Linked DNA regions of Homo sapiens: region 2 is linked to region 1. The links are contacts of gene promoters, found by promoter capture Hi-C in blood cells and fetal thymus (Javierre and others, 2016). All regions are on one chromosome and are shown on one strand. The core of a region is centred on a gene start or on the middle of the fragment in contact, and the rest is flanking DNA. Distances in the headings are between cores, read along the strand shown. Region 1 holds the start of RRM1 (ribonucleotide reductase catalytic subunit M1). Region 2 holds the start of NAP1L4 (nucleosome assembly protein 1 like 4).

The links. Contacts are between HindIII fragments. The CHiCAGO score rates a contact against its expected background, and 5 or more counts as called.
Region 2: a fragment that was not itself captured here is called in contact with the fragment with the promoter of RRM1 in region 1 in 1 of 17 cell types (total B cells); the score reaches 5.9 in total B cells.

What each region holds. Positions count from the first base shown.
Region 1 is chr11:4,092,703-4,097,384 of GRCh38, reverse strand. It overlaps RRM1 (ribonucleotide reductase catalytic subunit M1), which reads right to left and starts at 2,586. Exons shown (of 19, transcript NM_001033.5): 1 at 2,354-2,586. The coding sequence starts at 2,372. STIM1 (stromal interaction molecule 1) reads right to left here. Exons shown (of 13, transcript NM_001382567.1): 13 at 4,177-4,682. RefSeq lists enhancers at 2,357-2,826, 2,887-2,956. The HindIII fragment of the contact is 7,950 bases long and covers 1-3,291 here.
Region 2 is chr11:2,988,545-2,993,226 of GRCh38, reverse strand. It overlaps NAP1L4 (nucleosome assembly protein 1 like 4), which reads left to right and starts at 898. Exons shown (of 16, transcript NM_005969.4): 1 at 898-973. RefSeq lists enhancers at 634-928, 1,473-2,329. The HindIII fragment of the contact is 489 bases long and covers 2,640-3,128 here.

The DNA.
Region 1 (4,682 bases), core at 1,337-3,836:
CCATCTGGATCAAATTGTGCTCTATGAAGGAATGAGAAAATAAGCTCTGCTTTTTAGAGCTAGTTATAGCTAGCACTTTGTGGTTTTTTTTTTTTTTTTTTTTTTTGAGACAGAGTGTCACTCTGTCGCCTAGACTGGAGTGCAATGGCACGATTTCAGCAACCTCTGCCTCCCAGGCTCAAGCGATTCTCCTGCCTCAGCCTCCTGAGTAGCTGGGATTACAGGTGCAAACCACTACCGTCCGGCTAACTTTTGTGTTTTTAGTAGAGACGGGGTTCCACCATGTTGGCCCAGCTGGTCTCAAACTCCACACCTCAAATGATCCACCCACCTCAGCCTCCCAAAGTGCTGGGATTACAGGCGTGAGCCACCATGCCCTGCCACGCCAGGCCAAGGTAGCACTTTTTAAACGAAAGTATTTAGAAGTAGACTCTAAAAGTTCAAAATTCAACACAGGGTTGAATTTTACCCATTCTGGTCATCTAAGTCCATACATTTTCAATTCATCTTTGTTACTGACTTATCATAGACCATCCTAAACATCTCTCCCATATCTAAAGATTTAAAAAATAGATGCTCAAGCCAGGTGCGGTGGCTCCCAGCACTGTAATCCAAGCACTTTGGGAGGCTGAAGTGGGAAGAATGCTTGAGCCCAGGAGTTCAAGACAAGCCTGGGCAACATAGCGAGACTCCTTCTCTAAAAAAATACAAATAAATAATAATGTAAAAAAATAAAAATACAAAAATAGATGCTCAGCTCTCACTCTTATGAATGGATCAATAAAAGTGCACTATGTTATTTTGCTCTTTGGTCAGCTAAAATGTGAGCTAGGAAAATTCACAGAATGATGTTCTCAAGATACCAAAAACAAGAAAGGCCACTACTGTCCACCTTTCCAACTCTTGTCTGTAGTTAAACCAATCTGGACATTGGCTGTAGTTAAACCAAATCAACTACCTGCTTATTCACAGCATTCATCGTGTCCTACATTTTGATACAACTATTTTCATTCATTCTTTAAGAATCTGTTCATGTCAGGTCCTGTGCTAAACGTGAACAGAAAAGTCTCCATCTTGCTTGTATTCCCAGCACTTTGGGAAGCCAAGGAAGGGAGGATGGTTTGAGGCCAGGAATTCAAGGCCAGACTGGGAAACACAGCAAGACTCCTTTACTACCAGAAATTTTTAAAAATTAGCCACTCATGGTGGTGCATGCCTATAGTCCCAGCTACTTGAGAGGCTGAGGCAAGAGCATCGCTTGAGCCCAGGACTTCAAGGTTACAGTAAGCTATGATTACACCACTGCATTCCATCCTGGGTGACAGAGCAAGACTCTGTCTCAAACAAGTCTCCATCTTTGAAATGTTCACAGCCTAGAGGACAAAATAGAAACAACCAGTCGATTAACCAGTATTTACTAAGTGCCTACAATTTTGAAATCATTGTATTGCTTTAACAAAGGCAAGTAGGTTCAACTCAAAACTTGTTCATACGTATCTCATGCGGTTGTTAAAAGTATGTTGCTCTTGTTTTTCCAACCCGATGAAGCCTGTTCCCAAGGCAGGGACTGTCTCCTCCTACAATCTCACAAAGCCAAGCAAAGGGCTGGGCACAAAGCGGGCACTTGGCAAGTCTAATGAAAAAGAACTGTTGAGAAAGAATACGAGTTCCTGACTCTTCCCAGTCCCCATCTTGTCAGAAGATGTCTCAGCCACCCTTCTCTGATTCAGCATCTCTTCCCATGAAGGGAAAGGAACTCGAGGGTGCTGTCTGTCTGGGATCTGTTTTTTCCACGCCACACTCCTATCCTCACCCCACAAAAGAGATCAGTAAACTGACAAGTGCCTACGGAGGGTAGAGAGGCCCCCTCCTTCTTTCCTAGCTGCCCCCCGACCCTGTGCCTAAGACAGCTCACCAACCCCACGGTTTTCAAATCAAACCGTATTGTCACCTATGGGTGACTTTGGGTCAGTCGGCGACACCTCGCTCTGAGCGTCAGTTTCCTCATCTGTAATAAGCTAATCATCTCTCAGAGGCTTGCAGGGAGGAATAAAATAGTGCCTGGCAAGTGCTCGGCGTACGCAGTCACTACTCGATACGGGGTAAGTGTTATCCTTTTGAAAGGCGGCAGGATGACAAAGCCGAGGGGGCGCAGCCTGAAGGCCCGAAGGAGGTTCGGGGCAGGCTGACTGAAGACAGAAGGCCGAGCGGGCTGACAGGGCGGAAGGCCGCGGCGGGAAATGCGGGAAAGGCGGGAAGCAGCGAAGGCGGGCGGGCGGTCTGGGCATCAGCTCCGGCGGCGGCAGCCCGCATCCCCTCACCTTCCTTCTCGCCCACCTCGTCCCCCCCTCACCTCGCTTGATCACATGCATCGCAGCTAGTGGCTGAGGCTCTGAAGGATCCAAGACTGGACTGCGGCTCTAAAGCGCCGGCGGGATCGAGAAGGTGACAGAGTGGGAAGGGTTAGGTTCCAGGCGCTGCTCAGGGGAAAGAACTGGAGTTGGAGCCAGACAGCACTTTCTTCAGAGCAGAGGCGCAACAATCCAAATCCCCTTCCCGCGCCCGCCACCCGTGACGCACAAAGGGGCGCGACGGGGTTCGAATGACGTTACTCGACGCTGCGGCCCACGCCCGGGGTAGGCTTCACAGACTGACAGGCGACGTGTAGCCGCCATGTTGAGTCTGGGCAAGACCCAGAAGACTACGCCTCTCCCATGGGCCCCATTGGATATGGACATGCCCGGCGGAAATGCTGCTCTCCTGCTACCATGTTTTGTGTGGGCAAGCCGAGTTCGGGACCCTCGGGGCCCTGGCGTAGCACCTAGAGCCCGCTGGGTCAGGCGCCGCCCTCTCACCTGCGCGTCTCCGCCGGAGGAAAGGCGGTTAATTTATTTTTGAAATAACAAAACCTAACCGGCGGGAACGTTTTTCTTGCTCTGACATTTATTATAATAATACTAACACTGCCGTCCGCTGTGGGCTCCAGCCCAGGCTCCACAGCCGTGGGCAGCTTGGAGCCCCAGGGCTTTTAGATCGGCCAGAGGACTGACACTCTGGAACTGGAAGAAAACCGCGCAAGGCCGATGGCGTTTGGATTTTATCCTGACGCAAATCAGAGCCCTGAGAGAATTTTAAGCAGGGCAGGGTCAGTACCCATTTGCTTTTAGGGTTCTTCAGTGGATGGTGGCAGAGACAGGGTATTTGCCTTGTGGAGGTAGGATGGACTTGGTGACTTAGAGTGGAGAATAAGAATAGATGAGAACCGTAATATGTAAGGCTGGTGTAGAAGCTTCTGATTTGGGCTACCCAAAGCGATCTTTATGAAATTTCATCTGTGGCATCTTTTCCCTAAAGCCTTTTCGTTGGTTTCTCACTGCCCTCCAGAAGCTGCCCAGGCTCCCTGTGAAGTAATTTCAAAAATCATGGAAAGTCGTAAGTGAGCCTGTAATTGCAGCATTTTGGGAGGCTAAGGCGGGAGCATCATGTGAGGCCAGGTGTTGAGATAAGCCTGGGCAACATAGTGAGACCCCATTTCTACAAAAAATAGAAAAAGTAGGCCAGCGCGGTGCTTCACTCCTGTAATCCCAGCACTATGGGAGGCCAAGGCGGGCAGATCACGAGGTCAGGAGTTCGAGACCAGCCTAACCAACGTGGTGAAACCCCCCCGCTGCTAAAAATACAAAAAGTAGCCAGGCATGGTAGCACGCGCCTGTAATCCCAGCTACTCAGGAGGCTGAGGCAGAAGAATCGCTTGAACGCTGGAGGCAGAGGTTGCAGTGAGCCAAGATCGCGCCATTGCACCCTAGCCTAGGCAAGAGAGTGAGACGCCGTCTCAAAAAAAACAAAAAAAAAGAAAGAAAAATTAAATAGATATGTTTTTTAAAAGTCGTAAGTGAAGTTATAGGATAGATAGGGTCAAGTTTACCCAGACATAGGGTTTCCCAATTTAGCAAATAAAAATGTGTCCCAGATACTGCATGAGAGAAAATTATACTTTAAAAACTGTTTATCTGAAATTCACATTTAACTGGTCATCCTGCATTTATCTGGTAACCCTGCCCACAGAGCTTCTGGGCATGTGCATTCAAGTTTCATTTTCCCTGGGCAAAGGAAAGATTGTCTCTTTATCCCATCATGCCACAGCACAGAGAACACAATGAGAGTCAAAGCCAGCAGTGGTTAAAATCTCCTACATGCTTTATTGGACTTCAAAGAATTTTATGAAATAACACAGAAAACCCCATTTGAGGGTGTCCAGGGAGTACAAGGCAGTCTGCAGCCTAGCACCCTCCTAAGACCAGCCCCAGGTATACCCACCCCAGGCCCAAAATAGGATCCCAGGATAAAGGTATGGCAGGGAGTGGGGCAGAGGAAAAATACCTTTACAGCCATAGCAAAAACAGGTAAGGGAGAGAGTTGTCTAGAGGGTGGGAAGGGTGGGGGAAAGTGGTCACACAGCCGCCTTCACCTATACCATCTTCCTTAGCCACCCCTTCCCCAAACTGGTTGTGTCCTTTTTGAGCCTCTGGCCAAGGCTACAAAGTAACATGAAAATGGGATCTAACAAGGGGAATATGCAGCGTAGGCACTTGGGAAATTCAGATTACTTTTTTTCCTTTTAACCTGTTTGTCTTTTGGTTCAAAAAATGACAGCATCCTTGCCCAACAACTCCAGGGCTCCA
Region 2 (4,682 bases), core at 1,635-4,134, 1.1 Mb after region 1:
TTGGATGCCTTTCTACAAAATGTGATGTGCACAGGCTGGGGCTGGTACCTTCACCCCAGCCCAGAGGGCACCATGAGAGGGAGAACAGGGCGGGCGAAACAGGCCAGCTCCTCCCCAGCCCTCTGCCCTGCTCTGCTTCAGGGGGCTGATCTGAGGGCCCAGTGCGCACTGCTTTTCCTCCTTGTCCGACAGGGTCTCCCGCAGGCCAGAACTAGGCTGCTGGGACACTGCGGGGCTCAGGGCGTGGGGGAAGAGATGCAGGCAGTGGCTAGTCCCGTCCTGTCCGCGGAGGTGACCCAGCCCCGACCTCTTCGCAGAGGAAGTGTTCTCCAACCTGGGACCTGGGGGATGAGCGGGGGTTAGGCTTACGTCCCAACCACTAACGGGGCTGGTTGAAAACGGCTCCCAGGCGGAGGGGCCCTCCGCGATGTTCTCAAGGAGTAGCGCGAGGGGACGACATGGGAGGTGGGGTTCTCACATCAGCGGGCGCACGGAGTGCTGGAGGCACCGACCCGCCGCGGACGGGATTGAACTAGGGAACTGGGAGGGCGCAGGAGATAAAGACGGCTGGGGCCGGGGCCCACGGAGAGGGGTGGTGCCCAGTGTCCCGCGAGGATGTGGTGCCACCCGGGGAAGGTCCCGGGAGCGGGGACCCGGGACCCCCCGGAACCACACACGCGGTCTCCACCTTGCCCCGCCCCATTTAAAGAGGCGGAGGAACGCAGGGCGCGCGCCGCGCGGAGGAATATTTGCATATGGCGCGGCGTTTCTTCGGAGGCTTGTGATTGGTTGCTGACTGCGGCGCGAAGCGCAGTTGACTTGCGCCGCGCTCGGCGAATCGCAGCCTGTCTTGCTCGCGGAGAGAGGAGCTAGGAGCCTCGGCCAATGGGAGCCGGCGTTGTTGGAGGCCACGGCGGCGCAGCCCCAAAGCGAGCGAAGCTAGGGTCGCCGCCACTGCCGCAGGAGGCGTGAGGTGCGGAGACACGGGTGCTGGGCCGGTAACGGCGCGCTGGGGAGGGCGGCCGGGCCCGGACGGGCGGGTGGGGCCGCGGGTCCGGCGCGGGCGCGGCGGCGGCCATCTCTGGAAGCCTCGGGGCGGTGGGGCAGGGGCGGGGCCGCGTTCTGGTCGGGGCAGGCAGCGGCGGCCGCGGCGGGGCCTGGGGCTTGGGGCCTGGAGCCCGGGCCTGGGGCGCTGGCGGGAGGCCCCTCCCAACTCCCGGCGCGCCTCGCCCGGCTGCCCGCCTCACTGAAGGTCAAGGCGCTTTGTTCTGCGCCGCGGGCGGCCTCCTGGGCGGCGGCCCCTTGGAGGAGGCGAAGACGGCGAGAGGCGGCGGCCGCTCAAATCTCCCGCTAGCCCAGCCCGCCCCGCGTGCGGGGGCTGTGGCGGTTACACGGCCGGGCGCGCCGGAGCGTTCAGGCTTCCCGTTTTTAAGGTGGAGACGTCCAGGACTTCTTTATTAGATGTTTAGGAATTTGAGTTTTTCCGTAGGGCGGTTGTCATCGTGAGCCTCTGTGGGGTCAGGCTGGGCTAACTGGGGTTTTGATGTCAGTTTGGTGTGGCCGAGGGCATGTCTGACGGGGAAGAAAGTCCTTGGCGTTGCTTCTTAGCTGTTGGGAGCTGTGCGGTGGGAGCGAGCTGGGCGGCGTGCGCTCCCCGAGGACTGGCCTGAGTGGCCTTAGACTAGTTACTCACGGGACTTGGTTTCCCAGCCAAGGTGGGCAGCAAGTCTGTTTACTATTTAAAACCGTCTTTCACAAGGGAAAAGCAAAATCTCCAAAAAAAAAAATTGTACATGTTATGGATGGGAAAGTGCCATGCTTTTCTTTCAGTTCAGAGATGGTGGAAGAGGTCACATTTGTATTTTTTGACCTGACCAGAGTCTTTGTTGTTTTCAATTTTCCCCTTCTGAATGCTTTCCGTTCACCCCAGCGAAGGATGGCCTGGTCATGATAAGACTTTCCACCGTCCACAGTTCTCTAAGTCTGATTGCGGGGCAGGAGGCAGACATGTTTAGGGTCCAGTAAAGGGGACTCCAGCCTTGGGACCTTTAGACCCTAACGTGTGTGTCACATCACCTGCCTGGGTGACTGTGCGCTCCTCTGGCAGGAAGGTCCGCCATTTCATTATGTTCTCGGAGGAATCGTCGGGGCACATTCGTCTGTGCTTTGGTTCGCATCCCCCAGTCTGCATTACTTTTTCCTGTAGTAACCCGTGCCTTATCCTCCTGCATTAGGTTTACGGGGTGAAAATAGACTTTTAAAAATTCTCTTACCTTAGAAATATACAAATATGTAGATTAGGTTGTTGGACCTTAAAGGTAAGTCTTTCTAAGTTACTACCTTCCTGTAATAGTAACTATACCTCTAAATGACTAATACCTGCACTGCGCACCAGGGACTCTTTCAGCCTGTTTGCGTGTGTTAACTCATTTCATAATCTAATAACCTGAGATAGATGCTATTGTTTTTCCATTTAACTACTCTGGAAGCTGAGGCCCTGGGAGGTTAGGTATAATGACTTGTCCGAGGTGACAAAGCTTAAAGACCCAGGCAGTTTTAACTGTACCCAGGGTTACTGCTTCTGTAGAGGGAATGAAAGAAGTTTTAATGAGAAATTGTTTTCATCATTGTGCTAAGCTTAACTGAACTCTAGCTTACGAGGTTTTGAGCTGGTTGATCATTTCCATCTCAAAATTCTCTTATTCCACAGAATGCCAAATGCCTCCTATAGTAGAATTTTGAGATTCAGACTGGGATGAGCAATTGCTAATGGAATAAATAATATGCAAATGTAAAATGAAGTTCAGAGAAAGCAACGTGGTGATAGAATGGGAAAGTAATCCAAAGATAAAATGAGTGACTACAGAGAGAGAGAAAATTAGTTATTTAGTAGTAGTTCACAAGTTTACTTAGAGATATTTTTACTAGAATTTCAGGGCCTTATGATGTGATTTTTATGAACCATTTTAACACGTTACTGCCGTCTTAAATAGCTGTTATTACATATCCAATTGCAGTCTTTTTTTTTTCCTGGTTGAGCAGTGTTAGCTTCAGAATGTCTGCAGTTATTTGTGCCTATATGTCATATAGGCACATATAACACTTTTGTGAATTTTGTTGTGTAAGCTTTAAATCCGGTACTGTTTTTCAAAATGAATATGGAGTAGTCATTGGAGAAATTGGTTGAATTCTTTGCAGTAGCAAATAAATTTTAATCATTTTTAAGTTTGATAACTTTGGTAAACTGAATTCTGAAAAGTTTACACATGTTTTAGGATGTCCTCAAAATGTACAGGGCATTGTGTTTTGCAAATTAGCCATTTAGCCATCAGATTCTTCTGTAGAATTTTGATCTTTTTGCCCATATGAGAGGTAGTTCTTATTTGTATGGAGGTTAAGTACCTGCGGATGGGATGTGTTCATCACCACTTTACAGTATGAATTTGAATTTGAAACTGAAATGAAAACTTCCTAACCTGTCAGAGTTTTTAGTAGCCTCTTGTTATTGACCGCATGTTAATTCCCTTTGTTAGCTATTCGCAGCTAAGTGTGGGGACTGAAATCTTTATTTTGTTTTCCTTCTTTTGAGCAGTTGATAGTCTCTAGCATCAGGAGGAGGTGACCTCAAATATGTATGTATATATAGTAGTGCTTTTCTTCCTTCCCTTTAGTTGTCTGCAGTTTAAAAATTATTGTGATAAGTTTATGTTGTACTTCCAAAAATGTTGCCAAAGAGCCTATATTTTTCAGTTTGTTTTGGAAGAAAAATACTTTGTGGGCAAGAAGGTGATTTAAATTCCTGACGGCCTAAGAGGCGTCAGCTGTGTGAAATAGGCGAGTGCTGTTACTGCTTGAAACCATGATGGTTTATATTTGAATAAGACAGCAGAGATGAGCTTGTTGGGAGTTTGGCCTGAGATTGCTAGCTAAGGAATGCTTGCTTTTTTGCTTAAAGGGAAAAGTGTTTTAGGCTTCCAGAGTAGAAATCTGATATTACTTCGTTTGATTCTTCGACCACTATGGTGATAGGAAGTAGCTGATCTCTGCAGGAAACTGCTGTTACCTGGCCTCAGCTGAATTTTTGTGGGACCTCCTGAGGTAAGCAAATTTATGCCTCCCGAAACTATAGTTGTAAGGTTTGTCTTTGAGCATATAGTAATGGAAAACCCTTATCAGTAGGTAGATAGTAAATAATTTTGTATTTGGCTGCTAATGAAATTTTTAAGAAATAGTTTGTGGTGATATAAATTAGTTTTCATCTGGCAGTCATTGGTTTTCCACCCTGCCCTCTTAAGAGAGAACAGGGTTGCTTTACTTTGTTTGCCAGAGCTTTACATTTTGCATTTAGTAACAGAGGCATTGTGTTTTTATAGTATGAAAACAACGAAAGATCACTTTGTGATCTTTACTTTTTGATTTTGACCACTTCCTGTGTAACCTTAAGTTTCTTACAAGTATCCCCTGTTAACTGTTAAAAACGAAATGTATGTTCATTTCATGTCCTTGGGACTTTTAAAAATGCGCTGTGCATTATCTGGAAAAGCCTGTTCAAAAACAAGATGAGATAATTTCTGTTTAATTTGTGGTAGAAAGAATGACTGTGCACTTTTATGTGCAAAGGTTTTAAGTATAATAATTAAAATAGTACTTGTTTACTCAGTTACCGAAAAGTAGCTTTCAGT